5 separate regions of the Homo sapiens genome follow, and regions 1, 2, 3 and 4 are each linked to region 5. The links are contacts of gene promoters, found by promoter capture Hi-C in human tissues and cell types (Jung and others, 2019). All regions are on one chromosome and are shown on one strand. The core of a region is centred on a gene start or on the middle of the fragment in contact, and the rest is flanking DNA. Distances in the headings are between cores, read along the strand shown.

Evidence for each region. Contacts are between HindIII fragments. The study calls those that stand out against the background at their distance.
Region 1: a contact is called between a fragment that was not itself captured here and the fragment with the promoter of GDF6 in region 5, in 2 of the 25 tissues and cell types used here (lymphoblastoid cells and mesenchymal stem cells).
Region 2: a contact is called between a fragment that was not itself captured here and the fragment with the promoter of GDF6 in region 5, in 2 of the 25 tissues and cell types used here (IMR-90 fibroblasts and mesenchymal stem cells).
Region 3: a contact is called between a fragment that was not itself captured here and the fragment with the promoter of GDF6 in region 5, in 4 of the 25 tissues and cell types used here (aorta, dorsolateral prefrontal cortex, lymphoblastoid cells and 1 more).
Region 4: a fragment that was not itself captured here is called in contact with the fragment with the promoter of GDF6 in region 5 in 1 of the 25 tissues and cell types used here (IMR-90 fibroblasts).

The regions. Positions count from the first base shown.
Region 1 is chr8:95,957,364-95,961,566 of GRCh38, reverse strand. No RefSeq gene overlaps it. Among named protein-coding and RNA genes, the nearest start is that of GDF6, 200 kb to the left of the region's middle. The HindIII fragment of the contact is 5,589 bases long and covers 1-4,203 here.
Region 2 is chr8:95,980,558-95,984,927 of GRCh38, reverse strand. No RefSeq gene overlaps it. Among named protein-coding and RNA genes, the nearest start is that of GDF6, 180 kb to the left of the region's middle. The HindIII fragment of the contact is 8,089 bases long and covers 1-4,370 here.
Region 3 is chr8:95,922,817-95,927,158 of GRCh38, reverse strand. No RefSeq gene overlaps it. Among named protein-coding and RNA genes, the nearest start is that of GDF6, 240 kb to the left of the region's middle. The HindIII fragment of the contact is 5,171 bases long and covers 1-4,342 here.
Region 4 is chr8:96,005,650-96,009,977 of GRCh38, reverse strand. The region is part of intron 1 of LOC124901983 (a long non-coding RNA gene); the gene reads right to left. Among named protein-coding and RNA genes, the nearest start is that of GDF6, 150 kb to the left of the region's middle. The HindIII fragment of the contact is 9,341 bases long and covers 1-4,328 here.
Region 5 is chr8:96,158,678-96,163,020 of GRCh38, reverse strand. It overlaps GDF6 (growth differentiation factor 6), which reads left to right and starts at 2,215. Exons shown (of 2, transcript NM_001001557.4): 1 at 2,215-2,734. The coding sequence starts at 2,329. The HindIII fragment of the contact is 22,921 bases long and covers 1-4,343 here.

The sequences.
Region 1 (4,203 bases), core at 877-3,376, 200 kb after region 5:
GTTCAGTGTGGAACTTACTGGCACGACTTCAGATAGGTGCTGACCCCTGGAACAGTCAGCTGTAGCTGGAGAGATGGGACACTGGATTGGTCTAGCTTGGATCTGGTGCCCAGCTCTGGGTCGATCAGCTGAGTGGAGGGTGGGGGTCATACCATGCTCACATGGAGTTCCACGTGTTAACTATTGTGGATTGAGGAGGGACTGAGAGGAAAATGCCATAGGTGTCATCTGCATAGTTCAGCACTATTCAGAGAAATGCCTTTTGCACACTTGTTTTCCTTACAACTTTGCTGATTATAGAAAAATAATATGTTGCTTCAACTTAGCGTAGAATGGAACCTACGTTTGTGTTTGTGTCTGGGGGATATTTTTGGCTCTGGGAGGTTAGGCGCGAACTCTCCCCAGAGTGAGCTCTGATGGCATTAAATATTGGCCTTTGTAAGAACCAAATACAAATGGATGCTAGCCAACATCATAGTTTGAAAAGTATTGTGTTTCTTCTAATTAAAGGCTCTTAGGCAGCAGCTGGGCTAAGGAAATGCTTGAATCAAAGATCAGCATCTTACAGCATGCTGATTTTCAGTGAACTGTGAGCTGGGATTCATTGCCACACACCTCTTCCTGCCACTTGAGGCATTCTCAAAATACTCCATTCCCCTTATGACTCTATAAAAAAAAAGATTGATATATTGATATAAACATTTGAAAGCTTCTCATCCCTAACTTATAGATTATCAGGATGACTGGTTAATAATTCCCTACTGGCTTTATTATGAAAATCACTGAAAAAAATGCAAGATTTCAATAACATCAACAGGAGTACCAGTCAAGGGTTTTGTAATCTGTAGAGACAATTTGCATCAACCCAGTCACGTATAGAATCCTAAAAGATATAGCAAGATTAGGAAGAAATGCAGCTGGGGTTGTCCAACACCTCCATTGTTTACATACAGTAATAAAATCACACATCTGAGGAGGAGATAGACAATCAGAGCACATGAACCAACAAGGGAAAAAAAATCAACAAACGGCTTGTGAAAATATTAGGAAATATAAGAAAGAACAAAGAGCTCATGTAAGATACCAAGGAAAACTTGTGTTAGAAAAAAGTTAACTGAAAGAATACAAAATAAATCTTTGAAAGCATCTGTTTTGTGTTCTCGATAAAATTCTCAAAACATGTCCTTTATCAAATAAGAGGAAAGAGAAGGTGATGAGACAATAGACTAAGATTAAAAGTAAGTTGTTTAGGGAGTAGGAAGAGATTAAAAAGGCTCAATGAGGCAAACAAAGAAAGGTAACGAAAAAATGTAAATGCTTCATACCTTTTGTTTGTTTGTTTGTTTTTGAGACAGGGTCTCACTCTCTGTTACTTAAGCTGGAGTACAGTAGCGCAATCACAATTCACAGCAGCCTCAACCTCCTGGGCTTAGCAATCCTCCCACCTCAGGCTCCCCGCACCCGCTGAATAGCTGGGACTACGGGTGCGTGACACCACACCTGGCTAATTTTTCATGTTTTTTGTAGAGACGGTATCACTATGTTGCCCAGGCTGCACTCGAATTCCTGGGCTCAAGTGATCCTCCCACCTTGGCCTCCCAAAGTGCTGGGATTACAGGTGTGAGCCACTGCGCCTGGCTGCTTCATACCTTTTAAAGTTGAGATCATAAGTTTAAATAGTTGCAAAGGATCTTTCTAGTGTATTATGAACATTAATATTTCAAGACAAAAATATATGATCACTACTTAAAATGTGTCCAGTGTAATCTAAATACTTTAATTATTTTTATAATGACCATTATCTACTTTAAAAAGTACATGAACAAGCTCGTCTTTAACAGTTGAAAATTTAAAATAGTTTTTCAGATTTTCAGTTTGATTTTCCTTTCCCTGTAGGGTATATTTTAAGCATGGATTTTTAAAATATTGATTATCGTATTTTCAACAGCAGAAATATGATATACATTTAAATTTAAAATTGATACATTTAAAAATTTAAACTTGAAAAAGTTTTCTGTGACAAAACTTGAGATCTTCCCTCTTAGAAGATTTCAAGTATACAGTATATTATTATTAACTACAGTCACCATGTTATACATTATATCTCCAGTAATTATTCATCTTAGAGCTGAAGATTTGTACCCTTTGACCATTATCTCCTCTTTTCCCCATGCCAAAGCTCCCAAATTATGTGAAGTGATGAATATGTTAATTAGTTTTACTGGGGTAATCATTTCACAATACATACATATGTTAAAAACATGTTGTACACCCTAAATATATGTAATTTTTGCTAGTTATACCTCAATAAAGATAGAAAATATTTTTTCTGTAACCATAGGCTCTAAGTGTTAAATAATTTTTTTCTAGTTTGAGATATAATTACAATTGTTATCAACTGATTAAACTGATGTAGCTACATCACCTTTTTTTTTTTTTTTTTGAGACAGGGTCTTGCTCTGACCCAAGCTGGAGTAAAGTGGCACAATCAAGGCTCACTGTAGCATTGACCTGGACTCAAGTGATCCCACCACTTCATCCTCCCGAGTAGCTGGGACTACAGGTGTACACACTTGGCTAATTTTCATGGTTTTAGTAGAGATGGGGTTTTGCTGTGTTTCCCAGGCTTGTCTCAAACTCCTGAGCTCAAGTGATCCACCCACCTCGTCCTCCCAAAGTGCTGGGATTATAGGCATGAGCCACTGCACCTGGCTATCACACATTTTGATAAATAATTGTTAACCATAAGAAGTATGATTTTTATTGGAAATGCTGTTCTTAATGAGATGTTTAGGTCTGTTTATCTTTTGGTCAGTTCACATGATCCTGAGCGAATATTACTATTAGAATGAAACATGATCTCGCATCCACTCTATTCTTATTTTTTATTTTTATGAATGAAAATGCAATGATATTTTGTTTACATAAATAGGACTAGAAAGATTTGTATTATAGCTATTATATATTCTTTGAATTGTTTATGATTTATATACCAAAATTCACATAGCTACCAAACATCAAAAATTATTTTAATTATCTAACAGCTAATAAATCTATAAAGTCTTATTATAATTTTGTTGAAAGGAAAGGATTAGAAGCCACGTCATGTAATAATGTGTGCTAGCCAGTCATTCGAGTCCTTCATTTTTATCAACATCTGTTCCAATATTCCAAATGATTCCTTTGTTTGGTGCCCTGGAAGTTTTTAAACCCTGGGCCAATGCACCTGTTGTTATGTAAGAAACCATCCCCAGACTCAGAGGCAAACAACCATTTTGTTTTATTTACAGATTCTGTGGTTAAGAATTGGTCAGGTTGTAGTGAGGATGCTTATCTCCTCTCCTTGATGTGTGGGGACTCAGCTGAGAAAAATCAAAGGCTTGTGTGACCCTAAGCTGGGGACCAGAATTATCTAGACGCTTCTTATCTTAGTCTATTTGTGCTGCTATAACAAAACACCACAGACTGGGTATGAAGCACAGAAATTTATTTCTCATGGTCGTAGAGGCTGGAAAGTCTAAGATCAAGGTGCCAGCAGATTGTATGTCTTGTGGGGGCCTTCTTTCTGTGTCCTCACATGGTGAAAGCATAGAAGATAGCAAACTCACTCCCTCTCACCCTTTTATAGGAGCCCTAATCCAATCTATGAGGGCTCAGCCCTTATGACTTAATCACCTCTTAAGGTTTCACCTCTTAATACTACTACATTGTTGATTAAATTTTAACATATGAATTTTGAAGGGGACACTATCATTCAAATGCCCTGTATCTGGACTGAAATTACTTGAAGTCTGGACTTAGCTGAAACTGTCCGTCCAAAGGCCCACACATAACCTTTCCATGTGGCTTGAGCTACACCACTGCAGCCTTGGTATAGTCAGACTTCGTAGGGGGTTCAGAGCTCCAGTACAAGTTTTCCAGTAAGCAAAACAGAAACTGCATTGCCTTTTATGACTTACTCTTGGAAGTCATTTAGCATCTCTTCTACTGTACTCTATTGGTTAAAACAGCTATAATCTAGCCCAAATCTAAGGGGACTCCACTTTTTGATGGAAGAAATGTCAAAGGCCTAGCAGCCACTTTTTAAAAACCACTACAGCACCTTATTAAGATTTAGACAGAGTGAGAGAGTTCTTTTCTAAAGTGGCTGTCTTAGTTCATTTGTGTTGGTATAAAGGAATACTCAAGGCTGAGTAATTTATA
Region 2 (4,370 bases), core at 342-2,841, 180 kb after region 5:
AAACCATTCAAGAAAAGAAACCCAGTATACATTTCTGCTTGCCATTCTGCTTCTGACAGAGACAAGGAAAGAACTGAAAATCTGTCTTATACTGAGTTTCATATGAAAATGCCTAGCAATTGGAGGCCTATGCAAAATGGATCGAAAGCAGGTCACAAGTGAATTGAAAAGACCCTCAAAGGGCATATTGCTTAGAACCGATAGGGAGCCACTATATGGAACCGTATGATTAACTTCAGGAAACAGAAGTCTGAAATGAATTTCATTCTCTTTAGTGATGTTCTGGGTTGTGGGAAAGCCTTTGAAACAGCATAGATCTTCCAAGAAGACCTGGCTTCTGAGATGGCACAGGTGGAATCCTCTTCCTGTAGATATTTTGGACTACCTGGCTCTCTCATGCTTAGGAACTCCAGGATGCTAGCAGCTTTCCTCCGAGGTGGGAGGCTCCCCTGGAGGCCATCTGTACCTGAGGACCGACCCCTTGCAAGGGCTCTGTTTGCTGACTCAGTGAGATCTGGCCATCTGCACTCCCTGCTAGGCAGATGTTCCTTTCAGGATTCAGTTCATGCGGCAGATGAAGATGCAGAATGCATATGTGAGCACACATGGAATTCCTCATTCTCCAGTTCTGGGGAAGCCCTTCAGAGAACTGGAGCCTGTCTCTCAAGTCCCACCAGCAGATGCCCCTGCTGTGTGTGAAGGCCAGAAGCATCTTACAGGCTTGTGTCTGTGGCCAACTTGGGTCTTGATCTAATTTGACCCTCTCATTAGTTCTTGATGAGGGAGTCAATGCTTTGCACTGGGCATGTTGTTCTGCTTTTAAAGATATTTTCCTAAATAAGGCCAAGGAAAAACAAGACATATTTGGAAGTTATTTTTAAATACATCTCACTGAAAAAGACATCGTTTCCTTCATTTTCAAGTGACCACATATGCAGTCTCTTCCGTAAGTTTTGCCACAAAATGTTCTCAACAAAATAACTCTGTGCAGACTTAGTTTTAAGCAGAATTTCTGCTAGCTTCTTGCTTTGTGACCCTGGGTAAGTCTAAAATGTAAGTCTGGTTATAGGGTTCCTCTACATAACCCTGGTCCTGCCTCCTGATTCCCCACAGTCCGCTGCATGGCTACCAAGGCCCTTTGTGATTGAGTCCCCCTCCCCTCCATTCCCTCTCCCTGGCAGTCTTGGTCATACCTGCCTCAGGCCATTCCTGCAGCTGGCTGTGTTCACTCTTGCTCCTTGGTCATGCACACACTGTTGCCTGCAGATGAGCTGCTCTTTCTCCTTCCTTCCCCTCATTATATTCAGCATACTACTACCAATTCTCTAGGTCTTTGCTTAGATATTGTCCCTTTCTGATCCCTCTGGTGTGGGTTCAGTGCCCTTTGTATGTTCTCGTACTGCATCCGATAACCCCATGGTAGCTCTTCATTCTTCTGTATTATAATTGCCTGTTTTCTTGAACATTATTCTCCCTCTAAAGCCCCTCTAAAATAGACTTTAAGCTCCTAAGAACTAACTATAGACTAGACTACCAATAAGCGTGGGGCTTACTGATCTGACTGTACCATTGGAGCTGGGCTTTGCAGCTGGGCCAGATTCCTCTGGGTCTATACCAGTGTGACAGTCATCAGGGCTGGTCTAGTGTTCGGGCTGTTTCCTTCCAGGCCAATGATGGGATTGTATCTCCCTGTCCACTAGATGTTAGGTATGGCTGTGCTGTATGATTTCCTTTGATCGATGGGAGGTGAGCAGAAGTATGGGGCCTTCAGAGCTAGTTTGTGTTTCCACACATCTCCTTTGCCTCTCTGATTGGCAGTGTTCCAGATAAGTGTACTCCATTAGCTAGGGCCTTGAAGTGAGCATGATCATGATGTGGAGCAAAGTCCCTAGCCAGCTGTTAAAGGATGTGTAATCTAAACAAAAGATGAATCTCTGTTGTTTTCAGCTACTGAGAATTTGGAGTTATTTATTACTGAAGCATCACCTACACTATACTGATTGAAAAACTAAGATGATGGATAGATTTTTTCTGTGATGTCAACTCTTGATTGCCAATGGCTACTTAGAGCATTGAACTGTGAAGTGTATGTTTGGGTTCAGTGGGAAAGGATGCTGTGATTTATTAATGTCTCTATTAGCATAACATGGGAAATCAGAGCCTACTTGCCTATCTTGATTTATTCTGTGCTAATGATGAGTATATTTCATACCAGGTGTCTTCTCTTTTCCTGATGACCTATCTGCTTGACTCCTTGTTGCCTCTGCTATATGCATCAGCGTAACTAGTGTTAGAATTTCAACATAGCATGAAACTGAGTAAGTAATTCCCTAGCGGTCATAGGGTAAGTTAAGGAACTGAGACTAGTACACTGACTTCCAATCAAATATCCTTTCCCAACTGGATTGTTGTTTATTAACAGGTAAGCATATGAGATTCTCTACTTGAAAAAATGTTTTTTTCCTGAAAAAAATATAAAGTGGTGATTTAATTCTGTCTTTTGTCTATATTTCTAATAATTTACTAGCCATCGTAACGTTCTTTTCTAGTTTATTTTTATTACACAATGATGACACTTTTGGGTAATTAAGTCATTTTTCAGTACTTTAATTCATATGAGACTATAACTATGAATAAAAATATTTATTTTTAAAATAAAATTTATACATTGCCCCCTTCATTTGACATTTATACACTTAGACAATTATAACATTTCTTTGGCTAACATTTCCTAGGTGTGTCCATGCTGGGCAGTATTGAGTCATTCAGTGATCACTACTTGATGCTTGGTGCTCTGTTTGTTCTTCCTCAGTTTTTTGGCTGGCACTTCCCTCTTCCCACTTCTCAAATCATCCTCTGAATCCAATCATCAAGCACACCCTACTATTCCTGTCCTCTTAATTTCTTCCAGCACTGTTCCACCTTCTCCATCTCCATCTTTGCTGCCAAACAACAGTGCCAGTGTAAGCTTTCTCATCTCTGGCCCACACTGTTGAGGGAATATCCTCACTGGACTCCTTGCTTCATGACCTATCCCTTAGGTAACTGTTGTTTATTGAGTCCTTACATTGTGCAAAGCATCAAGCCAAAGATTACATATATTGTCTCTCTTAATCCTTACAATAACCGTATTGTTTTCAGGCCTCACAGAACCTGGATCCCTCCTGTCGTACCTCAGTCAGAATTTGCTTAGAGTAGATCATATGACTCCAAGCATCTGTAGAAACTATAAGTAGGGGGAAAAAGGCCAAGAGTGAGGGTCCTCATTTATCTTATCTCTCAACAAGAGAAGAACTTGCTTTGAGTCTCTTCAGAAAATGCTTTAACCCAAAGTCTGTTCCCTCCAGGGGGTTCTTAGGAGGCATTTTTTGAATGTGACCTTCTAATCCTGTGTCCAAATCATAGGTAAACACAGGCTTCCCATCTGTGCATGTTTAACACTCACAGGTGTGTCAGCCAAGGGGCTTTCCCTTTCCCAGTGGCCCTCAGCCCACCACTCAGCCCTCCAGTTCCTCTGGTGGGAGGTGGTTCCCCCTCTCTAGCCCACGCCAGCTATCTCCTCCACCCCAGGGCCTGAACCAGTGTCCTGTGATGCTGAGGGGAAGACAGACATCTTGGGATGGAGAGATTGATGAATCCTGGCCTACATGGATGGGTTCTTCCTTTCAGAAGCTTTGTGATCCTCCCATTCTATAACTGAGTCCCCAACAATTAAAAAAGAAAGACACCAGCTCAATTTATATTATTACTATTACCTATTTAGTGTATTTTTCTATTTAGCCTCATCTGTGTTAAATGCTTCCCACTAGAGTGAAGCTTTAATACTCTAGAATGTTTATATCTCCCAAAAATAGTGAATTCTGCACAAAGGCACAACAATAAGGCTCCCCTCAAGGCTTAGGAAAACTTGTTTTGGGTGAGATCAATTTCCTGAGAAAACTAACTTTTCCTAAGCAATAATTTGAACATAGTGGCTGAGATATTTAATTAACCCAAGTGTAGTGTTAAGAATGCAAATGACTTGACCAACAAGCACATAAAAAATGCTCAACATCATTAATCATTAGAGAAATGCAAATCAAAACCACAATGAGATACCATCTCACACCAGTCAGAATGGCTATTATTAAAAAGTCAAAAAACAACAGATGTTGGCAAGGTTGTATAGAAAGGGAATGCTTACAATGCTGGTGGGAATGTAAATTAGTTCCACCACTGTGGAAAGCAGTTCGGTGATTTCTTAAAGAACTTAAAAGAGAATTTCTATGCGACCCAGCAATCTCATTATTGGGTATAGACCTAGAGGAATATAAATTGTTTTACCATAAAGACACATGCAACCGTATGTTCCTCACAGAACTATTCACAAT
Region 3 (4,342 bases), core at 525-3,024, 240 kb after region 5:
GATAATGGGGAATCCAAGAGGATGAGAAGGCCACAAATGCCTGCTCTTATGTAGTTTTCAATCTATCAGTGTAATAGAATTTAGGACCAAAAGGAAAAAATAGGAACATAATAAGAATCATCACACAGAGGACAGCAAATTAGTGCAGTTTATGCAGAGCAAGCAAGTATTGCATTATGCTTACCAACATTTGGGTTGTGGGGCTTAGTGGGTATCCTATGTATAACCTAGGGAATCTGTCTTTTTATTTTCCATTAATTCTGATTTTTTACTTTGAAAGGAGCCCAGGGATTATCCTTTAGAATGTTTCCCTTTTACTTATACAGTATATAAATATAGCTTTATTGTCATACACTTGTTCCTGACTATGAGATCTTTCAACATCCACTCAGTGAGTACCTACTACATGCCAGGTACTTTACACAGATGAAACCAATATGATCCCTGCCTTTAGAAAATAGAAATTTATTGCGATGCTAATAGTTTTTACCTGTGGGTGTTAGAATTATGGATGAGATTTATTTTCCCAACTATATTTTTCTGCATTTATTAAGATTTCTGCAGTGACTATGTAAGACTTTTATAATCAGAATGCAAAAACTAAAATAAACTAGGGTACACAAATTTAGTCTTATGACACATGCAAGAAGATAGACAATAGTAATAGTAATTTTGAGAGCTTCCTATATAACAAATACTGTGCTGAGCATTTTATATAAACTATTTTATTTAATTCTCATAATGTTATCAAATTAGTACTTTTTAAAATCTCATTTTCCAGATAGTAACACCAAGGCCAAAAGAGAGTAAACCCCAGACTACATAGCTGTAAATGGAACAACTACCATGGAAACAACTTAATCAGACAACAATTTAATCAGACAACAATTTAATCAGACAAATAAAAGCAAAGTGAAGATTAAACACATCTGTTTTGGCCCTGGGAACTCTCTTCATTATGTAATCTTGTAGCTATATACAACCAAGTGGCTTTATACACCTGTACATATTTGGTGGTATATGGTGTTATTTTTGGAAGAGTTTGTTTCCTTTCGATAGAGAGCAACTTAAGGCCAAGAATCGTATCTGCCTCAGTATTTTATGTATTTATTTATTCTTTGGTTTGTGGTAGAGGCTTACCTGTCTGAGTAACACTTAAAAAATCTTGTTGACTGCCTGGCATAGTAGGTGTGTAGTCACAAAGTTCTCCTGCTTTGCTGAGGGAGACTGTGGATTCTGATATGACCCTTAGCTGGGCTCAGTTTCTTAGCTTCACCATGGGACCTCAAATAAATATTATTGTTTTTCATAATAATATTTATTAAGCATCTACATAGTTTCTAGCACCAAAAAAAGGATTTCAAAGGGGGAAATGCATTGTATACACAGTGTTTAGGTAGCTGTGAGGGATCATCCAGCTACTCCCAGGACTGCTCTGAGTCTAGATGTTGTGCAGACTGTAAAGTGCTTTAAGCTTCCCTGGAGAAAACAACTATGTCAGTTCCACAGAATCTTGATTTTATTTTCTGTGATTAGGTGACCCATGTGATAAGCTGCATATTTTTCTCTTGTTGAGAATTTGTCTAAGAACAAACTCCAGTTGGATTCAAAAGAATGGTTGACCTATTTTATGAGGTTATTTAAATATGGAATTCTAGGGTGAATAGTTAGTAAACATTGGACTGCCCTCTGATCATCTAGTTTTACAGTAATTATTTATTGAGCATGCTCTTCATACAAGGCATTATGGTTGGTGCTTCAGATAATGCAAAGATGATGAAGATGTGATCTCTGACCTCGGCAGTTATAACCCCTAATGACACAAATACAGATAACTGGAAAACAAAGCAAGAAGTAGTAAAGTAACACATGAAGGCTGAGGGCCCATGCCACATGGAAACCTACTACATGGGAGGTCATTGGCGGCATTGCCAGAGTGTTTGAGCACTCATATTGTACCCAGACACCAATATAAGAGCTTTATATGAATTATTTCAAGCTAATTCTCAAAGAACTCTGAGTGCTGATGTAACACACCCTTCTCTGCCTGAGATTTTAACCACTAGAGAAATAAAAAGAGTAATAAACAAGGACCCTTATTACTGATAAAGGCTATGTTAGTGGATGTAGCTTAGGATCATAAACAGTCTTTCTAATTTACTATCTAGACCTTGGAAAAACCTATCGGAAGGAAAGTTTGAATCTGCAGAGCAAACACTGTTAGCCAGGTTATTGCCTCCCCTGGAACGGAGAGAAGGAGAAAGAGAGAAAATTTCCTGTGTTTAGACCTTTGGGAGATGAGCTCCACTGGTGAAGAATTGTGGAATGATAGCTGTGGCTACTGACTGGGTGTCACTGGCCAGGTATTTCACACCATCTCCATGGGGAGGAGGAGAAGGGAGGCCAGGAATGACTAGAGAAATCCCTTTTCATTGAAATAAAAGGGGGGAAATGGGCTTTTCCCTCCATGGTTCCCCAGGTTTTAATTCCCTTTATCCATTGAGTTTGCCTATTGAGTGTATGATTAAGATAGGAGTGTGGCTTTCCCTTTGAGAGAGGAGTCAGGTAGTTGATCAAGTTAGTCCTTCTTACCCATGAGAGGCCACACCCTTCCTTTGAGGGACATCTAGAAAGCAGTGAGGATTTTTACCTCAGAAAGCTCTGAGATGAGTCAGAACAGAGCATTACGAAAATACACTTTGATGCCACATTGTCCTTAAGGCCAAAAACATATTACCTATTCCAATCCCAACTTATATCCAGCCATGTGTAAAATATAGACAATTAGAGATTCTGCCACAGGATAAGTGAAACATTAAGACGCTTCAATATTAAAATGCATAAATACACGTTAGTAATAAAATGCCAGTACAATAGAAGCATTCTAAGCTTGAATTTTAAAAGCTCTTATTATCAATTGGCCTGGAAATAATGAAGGCCCTCAAATTAATTCTTTTTTCAAGGTAAAGACCCCAAACTTTCAAGTCTAATGGAATTAAGAGCAACATCAAATGATCTTGCCCTGATTAGTTAAAAGCAATTTAAGTCTAAAACTCACCCTTGTCTGATTTTTTATTCTGCTGTCGAGGGGCTCTTCTTTGCAGAGTGGACAGGGGCAGCTGGAATTCTTTCAGCAGATGCCGCCTGGGCTGAGTATCTCTCCCTGCAGTGGGCAGAGTTCCTTTAGGACCTATGAATCTGACCCAGTTCAATGCCAATTCTGTAAATTGCTCTCCTATGAAAAGAATTCAAAGACAGGCAAGTTAATCACAGTAGGGGCCTCATACCCACCATATTCAGGAAACAAAGTAATTCCTAGCCCTTATCAGTTATTCCAGGTAGAATTATGTTGCTAGAGCCAAGTACCAATGGCCGTCTAAGAGAAGGAATGTTGCTGGAGAAACAAAAACAAACAAACAAACAAAAAAAACATGGTTTCAGTTCCTTCAGAGGCAGTTAGACTATGTCAGTTGTCCAGAATCCATGATCCATTTCATATAAGGGACTCTCTCCTAAGAGAGCAAGGACTATATGGAGCAAAGGGTCTTTTACCAATGAGCATTGTCTCTTCTCTCAGAGAGTAGCCTTTGAGACATAATGACTCTTTACAAAGTTTAGAAACTAGCCCCAGGCAGCATATCTTATGTGAGGTGTGCTTTGTTTTTGCTTTTGTTGTTGTCTTAAGCAATGTTCCAATCTTTTTGTCTATCAGCTTCCTTTGAGATCCAGTTTCTGGCACCCTAGATCAGCACTATCTACTGAGGTCCATGAGTAGCAACATGGCATCCATTCTCTCCTTTGAGCCACCCTGGCTGCTTCGTGGGGATTTTTTAGATGAAAGGTGTCTCTGTGCCCACATTTGTTCAGCTGGAGAATCATCCTCAGCAGATTCATGAATTGGAGCTGTTGTCCTTGCTCCTGGAGATTATGTCCGTGGGAGGTTGGTGACTCCCAGTACCTCTCTGCCAGGTGCTTCTCAGGGCACTACCCTCCTCTACTTTTTTTAAAAACTCATTTTTAATGGAAAATTTCAAATATATATAAAAGTAGGCAGATTAATATAATACATTCCTCATCTACCGATAACATGGTTTCAATGATTAGTAACTCATGCATCCTTTTGTTTTCCTCGAGGTTTGAATATTTCAGATCTCGAGGAGGCTTTCTTTCTATTGCGTCTTTCTCTGCAACACTGGAGTATGCCTCCAATATTTTCTTCCCATCTGCTGTTTCCCTCTTCCTCTGGCAAAGCTTAGTTGAGGTTCTAACAGCTAATCCTTTTTCTTCTCCAATACATACAGGGCTAGAGCTATGGGCTGGGAGAGAACAGTTTTCTTGCTTT
Region 4 (4,328 bases), core at 1,391-3,890, 150 kb after region 5:
GAAATGGAGGCCTGAATTGACCATGAGAATAACCTCTCTACCTCTGAACTTCCAGCTATTTAGCCAATATAATTCCTTGATATTTTAGCTAGTTTGAATTGGATTTCTGCTACTAGCAGTTAAAACCTTTTGGACTGATAAACTCTAGAACTGGCAATAACATGAGAGAGAGAAGAAAGTGGTAGTAGTTAAGGTGAAGTATAGGTATAAGAAGGAAGACTGGGGAAGTGAAAGAAAAGGCAAAATTTACCTGAAACAGCTGGTTGGGACATTTGGGACTCATACTCAACCTTACCCTGTATTTTTGTTTATTAATGGTTGCAGGTAAAAGGAGGAATGGCAGCTGTCAAGGTTTCTTTTGCCCAGTGGATTATGGTAAAGATTTGTCAAAATTTAAAAGCACAGCCTCTGTATCAATGTCAGATGGTAGTAAAGAACAGAGGTGATGAGTGCATGCTGGAAGAAAAAACAGATAAAATGGCCCTGCCCATTGGCCTGGAAAAATTGTGTGGTCTCTTTCCTCATCTGAATGCGTTGTATACCCTCAGTCTGCAAGGCAGATTTACACAGCTATCCAGAGACTGGAAAGTTTTAAAATGCCACTGCAGGGAGCTATTATTTATATCCTTGGCAGTAAGTGTTTTTGATTCTAAGTAGGAGTTTGAGGAGAACCGAGGTTCTCAGCGATCCATAACAATTGTCACATTTGATCTTTTGGTCCAGACTGTGACCATAGCATGTATTTAGGAGATACTGGCTGGTGGCTGGTATGGAGATGGGGTTTAGGGAACCCACAGGTCATGCCTATAGTATAAATTAAGTAGTCTCAGTACACAGATTGAACATGAAGTCATGACGTTGGCCTCATTAGCATTCCATCTAGTGCCATTTGCAGAGTGGCTGATGCTTTTCCTAATCTTATCTTAGACACAGCTGTGCCCATGGTTCACAGAACCAGTAACTCACTTTCTACACTAAACAACCAACCAATTAATCAACTGTACACATGAACACACACACACACACACACACAGACACACACACACACACACACAGAAGCAGGGAGGGAGAGAGAAGGAGAATTTATTAATGCCAGCACTGTTTCCTAATTCTGCCTTACTACAAGATCACACTGCACAGGAATGCCACTTTGGCCAGTAAAACCCTTAAATATCCTTTTCTGAGTGTGAGCTTGCTTTATATAATAATAATGGCTAAAAATCAAATCCCTCTACATTAAAAAGTGAGAAAGAGCCTCACAATTCCAACTATGACATGTACTGAGACCTTGAGTGTAGAGGTTCCCAACTGTTTCTGCCATAACATGAGTGATGGATGATGTTCACATGCAGGACGCATTCCCATTGCATCCCTATGCACTATCCTAGGGGTCCTTGAAGTAACATGAACCCTTTCGCTCCAACTCAGTAAAGCATATCAGAGAATGTGGTGGTTTCAAGTGGCATTATTATAGGGCTTACCTTGAAGCTACCACTAAGTTTTACTTAAAAGTGAATTATTCACAAACTTTAGTACTTTAACTATTATTAACTACAGATCAATTGCAACATATCCCACAACATTCAAGTAGACTCAGACCTCTTGTACTTCCAGAATAAAGTTTATTTTCCTTATTTAACCCAGTGTCTGTTTACTAAGTTAGGAGATAGTGTTGAGCTTGATTTTGAGAAATCATTTTTTTCCACACTCAACTTGTAAGCCCAAATATTTCATGTCACTCCACAAATGTAACTTTGTGTTAAATTTTCTATGTGGCTCACAACTTAATAAAAATAATGAAGAAATAGGTTAATCTGAGTCTATAAAAATAAGATTTATTAAAGAAAACTGGATTGGAAGAAGCAATTGATTTCATCATGGTGAATATTGTCAGAAGTAGCAGAATGCTGAATAACTAAGGTTTCAATGAACTTTTTTAAAAGCAAGTTTTGGGTTTGATAGAGTTTAGATGTAGATGGCCCTATCTAGCTCTTGTGGAACAGGTAGAAAAAACATTCATCATTTGACATGCCAACTCTTGTCTGGGCTGTGAGGGCAGCCTTAGGTGGCCCAGGTCTTTTTTTGTGGCTTCCAGTTTGGGAGAAGCTCTTGGTGGATTGGCATGATGCCAGTATCCAACACAGCTGAAGTAATAGCAACGATTTCTCTCACTTGTCCATGCTGAGAGTGGACTTGACCTAGTGGTCTCCTGTATACCCTCTTCCCAACTGAGAATAAAGCTGCCTGAAGTGAAGAATGCTGGGAGAACTCCCAGAACTTGAGTTCTTCCTCCTGTTTTTGAGAAGCCTTGCTTCTCATTTTTCTGCTCCTGGTTGACAGGTGGATAAAACCCAGCACAGCGGAAGTCATAGGAGGAATTCAATTCAGTCTCACACTAAGTCAGCCAGTTGATCTGACTACAGAGAAGTGAAGCCTACCCCTAGTCTGAGTTAATGTCACGAAATATGTTTAATCACCACCAGTCAGTGCACACACACATACACTCATAAACAAACACACTCACACTCATACATCATAGCAATAACAGCTCAATCAAGTCAGCACTGTGGACGAGTGGAGACATTTTGCCAAGCCCATAGTGGACTGACGCACCAAGGGATTTGGAATTTGGACCCTCCCACTACACCCCTTCAATCCTGGGGAGTGGAGCATGTAATCTCTTGGCTAAACAAGGCTTCTTAATATTCAGGGAAGAAAGGTTCAACATGGTATTATACACCAATGCAGAGCCTGTGGGACACGATAGCCTTGAGAAGAGGAGATTTGGTCAGTTACGTGTAAATGAATCAGAAACAGATGGATGATATTTTTGTTAAAATACACACGGGTTTTTAAATTAAGAGGGTGAAGAAGAGTTGCAGAGACAGCTTTGGCAAAAATGTCTTGTGCTCTGCCGGGCCCTAAGGAAATGTTCAGTGAACCTAGAGTACAGCCAAGGTCAATGTTCTATCATTAATGGATAGCATACAGCCCATGACCACACACAGGCCAGGAAATAGGAAGAATCCTAATATATATTGGCATTTATCAGCAAGATTTTCAGTTTGTGATAAAAATAAAAAGGCTCATATTATGTCATGGAACGGCATGACACGCATTCCATAAGCCAGCGGTTGACTTGGTCTTGGAATGTGAAAAAGAGGAAGGTATTTTCTATATCTCACCCCCTTCCTCTGTCACAAGTTTTCACATGGTATTAAGAAGCAATGCGTCCAGATTCTAATTTGCTCTTCTTTTTATTCTTTTGCTGCATTTCTTTACTAATTGAAAACGGACAGCAAAGATACCCCCAACCACAAATATCTAGAAGAAAATGGAGACATTTGGACAGACTGAAAAAGTTTTATGAGCTCTAATAAGGCTAATCAAGGCTCTGGAAAGAATTTTGTTTCATGGTGGACTCAACAAAACAATGAACTGGGTCCTTCAAACAATGAGCTGATTGGCCACAGCAGGAGGCCTGGGGGCCAGGGCCCTGATGAACTGCTGGTCAATTTGGGTGTTGCAACCGCTTTCCATGGTGACGCAACCGCGGTGGAACTTAGGCACCATCTGTTGCTTGTCCTTCAGGCTGCTGTCAATCCTCCATCCCTGCAAGTCCTAAATAAGCCTCCCCTGAAGTTCTCAAAGTGGAATCTAGCCCTCAGTTAATTTGTTTTCTGAGCAGTTCACTCTACAGTGGAGGCATGTTCCCCACCTCATTTCTTTATGTCAGTGTTACACAGTCCAGGCTGAGGAGTGAGGTGGGTGAGTGAAGAGCACACAGGAAGGGCTACTCTGTAGGGATAGCAAAGGAGAAAGTAGAGTTGATAGACAAAGGGGCAGTTCCCTCTGGGTTAGTGCCAACGTCAAATTCCTCTGTGCTGGGAAGAAGGGGAGTGCAATCCCTTTCCCTCACCCATCCTTCATCCCCTCAAGTGATCTCCTAGGGAATAAGAAGGTTCTACCAGCCAGTAGGTTCTGAGGACTGGCTGAGCCTGGAGGCCTCCTTTCTAAAGACAAAGCTGCTCTGAAGTGGGTGGGCTTTACCTTTGCCTGGGCAGATGCCACTGCTGTGGTGCCTCCACAGAGCCCTGGGAGGAGCTGAATTCCACCTTCAATTCCCCTCACCTCCTTTCCTAACCTGCTTCCTCTTTTTTTCCCAAGTTGCTTCCATGAGTTTTTCCTTCCCCTGACAAGCTACAGATTTCCCCAACTTCTCAGGGGCAAATATAAACTCCTCAGGCACGGGGACTCTATCTGATCTAGTTTTATAACCTTAGTTTCAGCACAATGCCTAGCACATAGTGGGCCTACCACAAATATTT
Region 5 (4,343 bases), core at 966-3,465:
AAATTTGAGAAATAATTTTTTCTTTCAGTTTATCTCCTTTTATTTTATTTTATTGTAAATATTAACAAGCCATTTTAAAGCACAGAGAGAGGAAGGAAGAAAATATTATAGTAAAAGCACCTTCAAGTATAAGGTCTCAGAACTTGACAACCATGAAACCCAAACTAGGGGACATAAGTAGAATTGGGATAGGGCCAGAAGGGGCATCCACGGAGACCAAGGGGAGAGCAGCCAAGCTCAATAGCCCAGTGATTAAGAGCCCAGACTCTGGAGTAGTGTGACCCTGGGCCTCACTTTCCCTATCTGTAAAATAGGAATAATACAGCACTTATTTCAGGATTGCTGTGAAGATTAAGTAAAATAATATTGGCGAAGGGCTTCAAACCATGACTGACACACAAGTTCTCTGTGGGTGCTTGCCATTACCTGGAGGAGGCCAGTGTCCAGGGTGGAGGGCATATCCCAGACCTTAAGGAAGTTAAAGGATGAGGGGAGCAGCGCAGCAAAACTCCCTCCCCCTGCAGGCTGTCATGTGAGTGGTCCCTGCAGGACAGAAGAGGTGATGAAAAAGCAAAAGGAAGAAGGGGTTAGAAAGTGAGAGGGAGGAGATTGGAGAGACTGGGAACACACACAGAAAGTAGCATGGCGGAGAAAGAAGCCACCTGAGATCAAGTGAAACCATAAAGAGAAGAAAAAAGCCAGAACTGAAATAGAGAAGTTGGGCCAGGAATGACTGTCTATGCTGTAGTGGGAAGAATCTTGGGCTTGGGGTGGGAGCCTGGGTTCTGTCCCTTGCTGCATAACCTCTTGGCAGAGTGGCCTTGGAAAAGTCACTTATTTCCATTGAGTCTTTTTTTTTTCCATCCGTGAAGGTGAAAATAGTCAACGCCAACCTCACAAAGCTGTTGGCACGATTAAAGGAGGGTACTTTATGGTTGGTGCCTGAGCACCCAATCAGTACTGAGGGAAACTCTTCTGCCCATAGCAGTCCAGGGCAGAGCACTGTGGCAGACAGAAGCAGCGCTACGCCGCATCGCCTTTCAGCGTGCAGGCCCAGGAATGAGCGAGGCAGTGGGCGGGGAAGACAGGCACGGGGAATCTGGGGACAGATAAAGGAAACTCGTGATGGGGCGAGGCTGGGCTGAAGAGAAACAGATTGGGGTAGAGCTGCAAAGGGAGGGGTCCACTGGAAGGCGAGGGGGGAGGCCGGGAAGAGAGAGGGTGGGAAGGCAGTGTGAGATGGGAGGGCAGTGTGAGAAGAAAAGCAGGCTGGGGAAGAGGGATTGGAATGCAGAAGGAACTTGGGGAAGGAGGAAGTCCTGCAGGCGGGAGGGAAAGAAGAGAGGGAAAATGGGGATGCAGTGGAGGCGGGGGGCAGGCCGCGAGAGGGAGAGGATCCCGGGAGCAGACGAAGAAGTGGAGCAGCTAAAGTCTGCGTCAGAAGAGGTTGGGGACTGCGAGAGGAGAGGCTGGGGCCTGCAGGGGAGCGCAGCAGCTTTTAGCATCGATCCAAACTCTAAAGACTCGTGGCCTTTGCCTGACCTCGAGGGTCGGGAATAGACGCCTGTCTTTGTGGAGAGCGATACCCAACCGAGAAAATGGGGCTGTTCCGAGCTGGGCCCTGCGCCTGGCCCAGGGCGAGGCTTCTCTGGCTCCGGGCTGGCCCCTGAGGGGCGCAAACGGCAGGCCTGGCGGTTGGGGCCGAGGAGGGAGGGTACCACCGCCCCGAGGCAGCACGCAGCCTGCAGCAGAGGCGCCTGCTCCAAGCTGTCTCTTGGGGGCGCCGCCGCCGCTTCCCTCCTCCGGGGCCGCTCGCTCCCAGGAAAGTGGAGGCGGCTGGCGAGGACCGAGAGCCGGGGCCGCGCTGCGGAGGGACCACACCTCCGGGAGTTCGAGGGGGACCCTGGCGCGGCGGGCCAGCCTTTGCTCCCCGGCCACGGGCCGGCAGCGCCCGCCTTCCCCCGGTCAGCGCTTGCGGCCCGCGCCGCGCGCACCGCCCGGCAACCCCGCGCGCGTCCCGCGGGGGCGCTGCGTCTTCCTGCCACACCGGCGCACCGCGGCCCCTCTCCCCCACACCTCCGGCCCGCACCACCCGGCTCTCCTCCCACCCTCCCCACCCCTCCTCTGCCCTCCCTCCCCATTCCTCCCCTCCCGGCGAGGGGCGGGAGGGGGCGTGGCGGGGCCGGGGTTTGTGTGGCTGGGACCCGGCTCCTCGCACTCCGAGTCCGCCCGAGGAGCCGGGCCCCGGCCGCTGTCCAGCCGCTCCGTGCCCCGCGCGTCCTGCGCCGCCGCCACCGCCTCCTGGGGAGACGCAGCCACTTGCCCGCCATGGATACTCCCAGGGTCCTGCTCTCGGCCGTCTTCCTCATCAGTTTTCTGTGGGATTTGCCCGGTTTCCAGCAGGCTTCCATCTCATCCTCCTCGTCGTCCGCCGAGCTGGGTTCCACCAAGGGCATGCGAAGCCGCAAGGAAGGCAAGATGCAGCGGGCGCCGCGCGACAGTGACGCGGGCCGGGAGGGCCAGGAACCACAGCCGCGGCCTCAGGACGAACCCCGGGCTCAGCAGCCCCGGGCGCAGGAGCCGCCAGGCAGGGGTCCGCGCGTGGTGCCCCACGAGTACATGCTGTCAATCTACAGGACTTACTCCATCGCTGAGAAGCTGGGCATCAATGCCAGCTTTTTCCAGTCTTCCAAGTCGGCTAATACGATCACCAGCTTTGTAGACAGGGGACTAGGTAAGTGGCAAAGAAAACGCTCGACTCCCCTCCCGCTGGAGCTCGGCAGCCAGGGAGCTGTTCCCGCTGGAGGCTACATTTGTGAATTCCCTTCCTGCTCTGGACACTTCCTTTTTACTTTTCTTAAATTGTTTTTCTCAAGCTCGAGTAAGTTTCTGAATGTGGCTGCGGATTCTATTCCAGTCTCTAAACCTCCCTTCCTTTCCCCCCCTTTCTTTCTCTCTCCCTTCTTTCCTTCTTCCTCTTTTGCAGAAGGCAGCGTGGTTGCCGCTTGTTGGTGGCTGGTGGGGGAAACGTGGAGGACGGGAGGCAGCAGGCGGATGAACCCGGCTGGAGAGGGGTCGGGATGGGGACTGATGGAATCGGTGTCTCGGGATACTGGGTTCGCAGTCCAAGGCCTGAGCTGCTGGGGCAGATCTAGGGCATGAGACAGCCTTGGAAAGCCCTGGGCAAAGCCGGCACTAGGGAGTCCCACAGTCTGAGGAACTAGTCCGCGAGCGGCGTCGGGCAGCCCCCTGGTCCTGGCGCCGCGCGGGTTTTCCGTTGGTCCCTGCGCTGGGTGGGATGGTCAGCCGGGCTGGAGCCCTGCGCCCTCCGGCTTTTTTGCTCCAGCGTGGTGCTCCCGGCTGCTCCGAGGCCTCAACACGAGTGGTTTCTGCAGATGCGGCGGCAGCAGTTGGGCGGGCCGGGACAGGGACGGCTAAGTTCGGAGGTTGTGGGTACTTAATACACAAAGGTACATGGGTATGCCCATCCACCTTTCTCAGCCAGGCGACGTTCCTCTCTCTACGCTATTCCTGAGGGCTGGTGGGGGTCTGGGAAATCCCTGGTACCCTCTGTGGGAACGCCTGCATGTGTGGGTGTCTGCGGAAACCCTTGCGGCCCCTTCTTGCCACCGGCGTTGATCTGCAGCGTGGCCAGTGCCCTCAAGAAAACCTCGCACCACCTCTGGTCCCAGAAATCAGGGAAGGATCCACAGGCATCGGAAACTAAGCTCCTAAAGGAGAGAGACAATAATGTGGAAGGAGACAGGAAAGGAAGGGAGAAAAAGGAAAGGAAGAGTAAAGAGAAGGAAGGAAGAAAATGACGGGATAAAAGCGATTTAGGCAGATATCCACTCCTCCATCCTCCCTAGACTTAGCTCCATGACTTTGACCTGCTCCCAGTTAAGTGGGGTTGCCCGGAAACCTTGCAGCGCTGGGGTTCGGGATTCGGAAGCTGCTTCAGCCACTGCTACCCTGGGTGCTCGCACATCTCTTAAGCTTTTTAGAGCAGGCTAACGGCCCCCCCGCCCCCAGCCCCGAGCTCTTCCCCGGCTCCAGTCCCCGCCTCTCACTCATAGTCGCGTTCCTTGCTCGAGGGTCTCGCCGCTGCAGCCCGAGGTCAGCGAGGTTCATGAGCTGCTGAAAGGTCCAGAGGGCAAATTAACGCCAGGTATTTTATGATGATTTTAGGGCTACTAAAGTCACCTTTGCAAAGACATGTGGCTTCTTCGTAGTAGTGCAACTGAGTCCCTGGCCTCCGTGCTGCCCGTGCAGCTCGCCAACCCTCCCCACGACGCACGCCTTGCTACAGTTGTTTCTGTCCCTCAAAGTCCTCTGTTAATCGT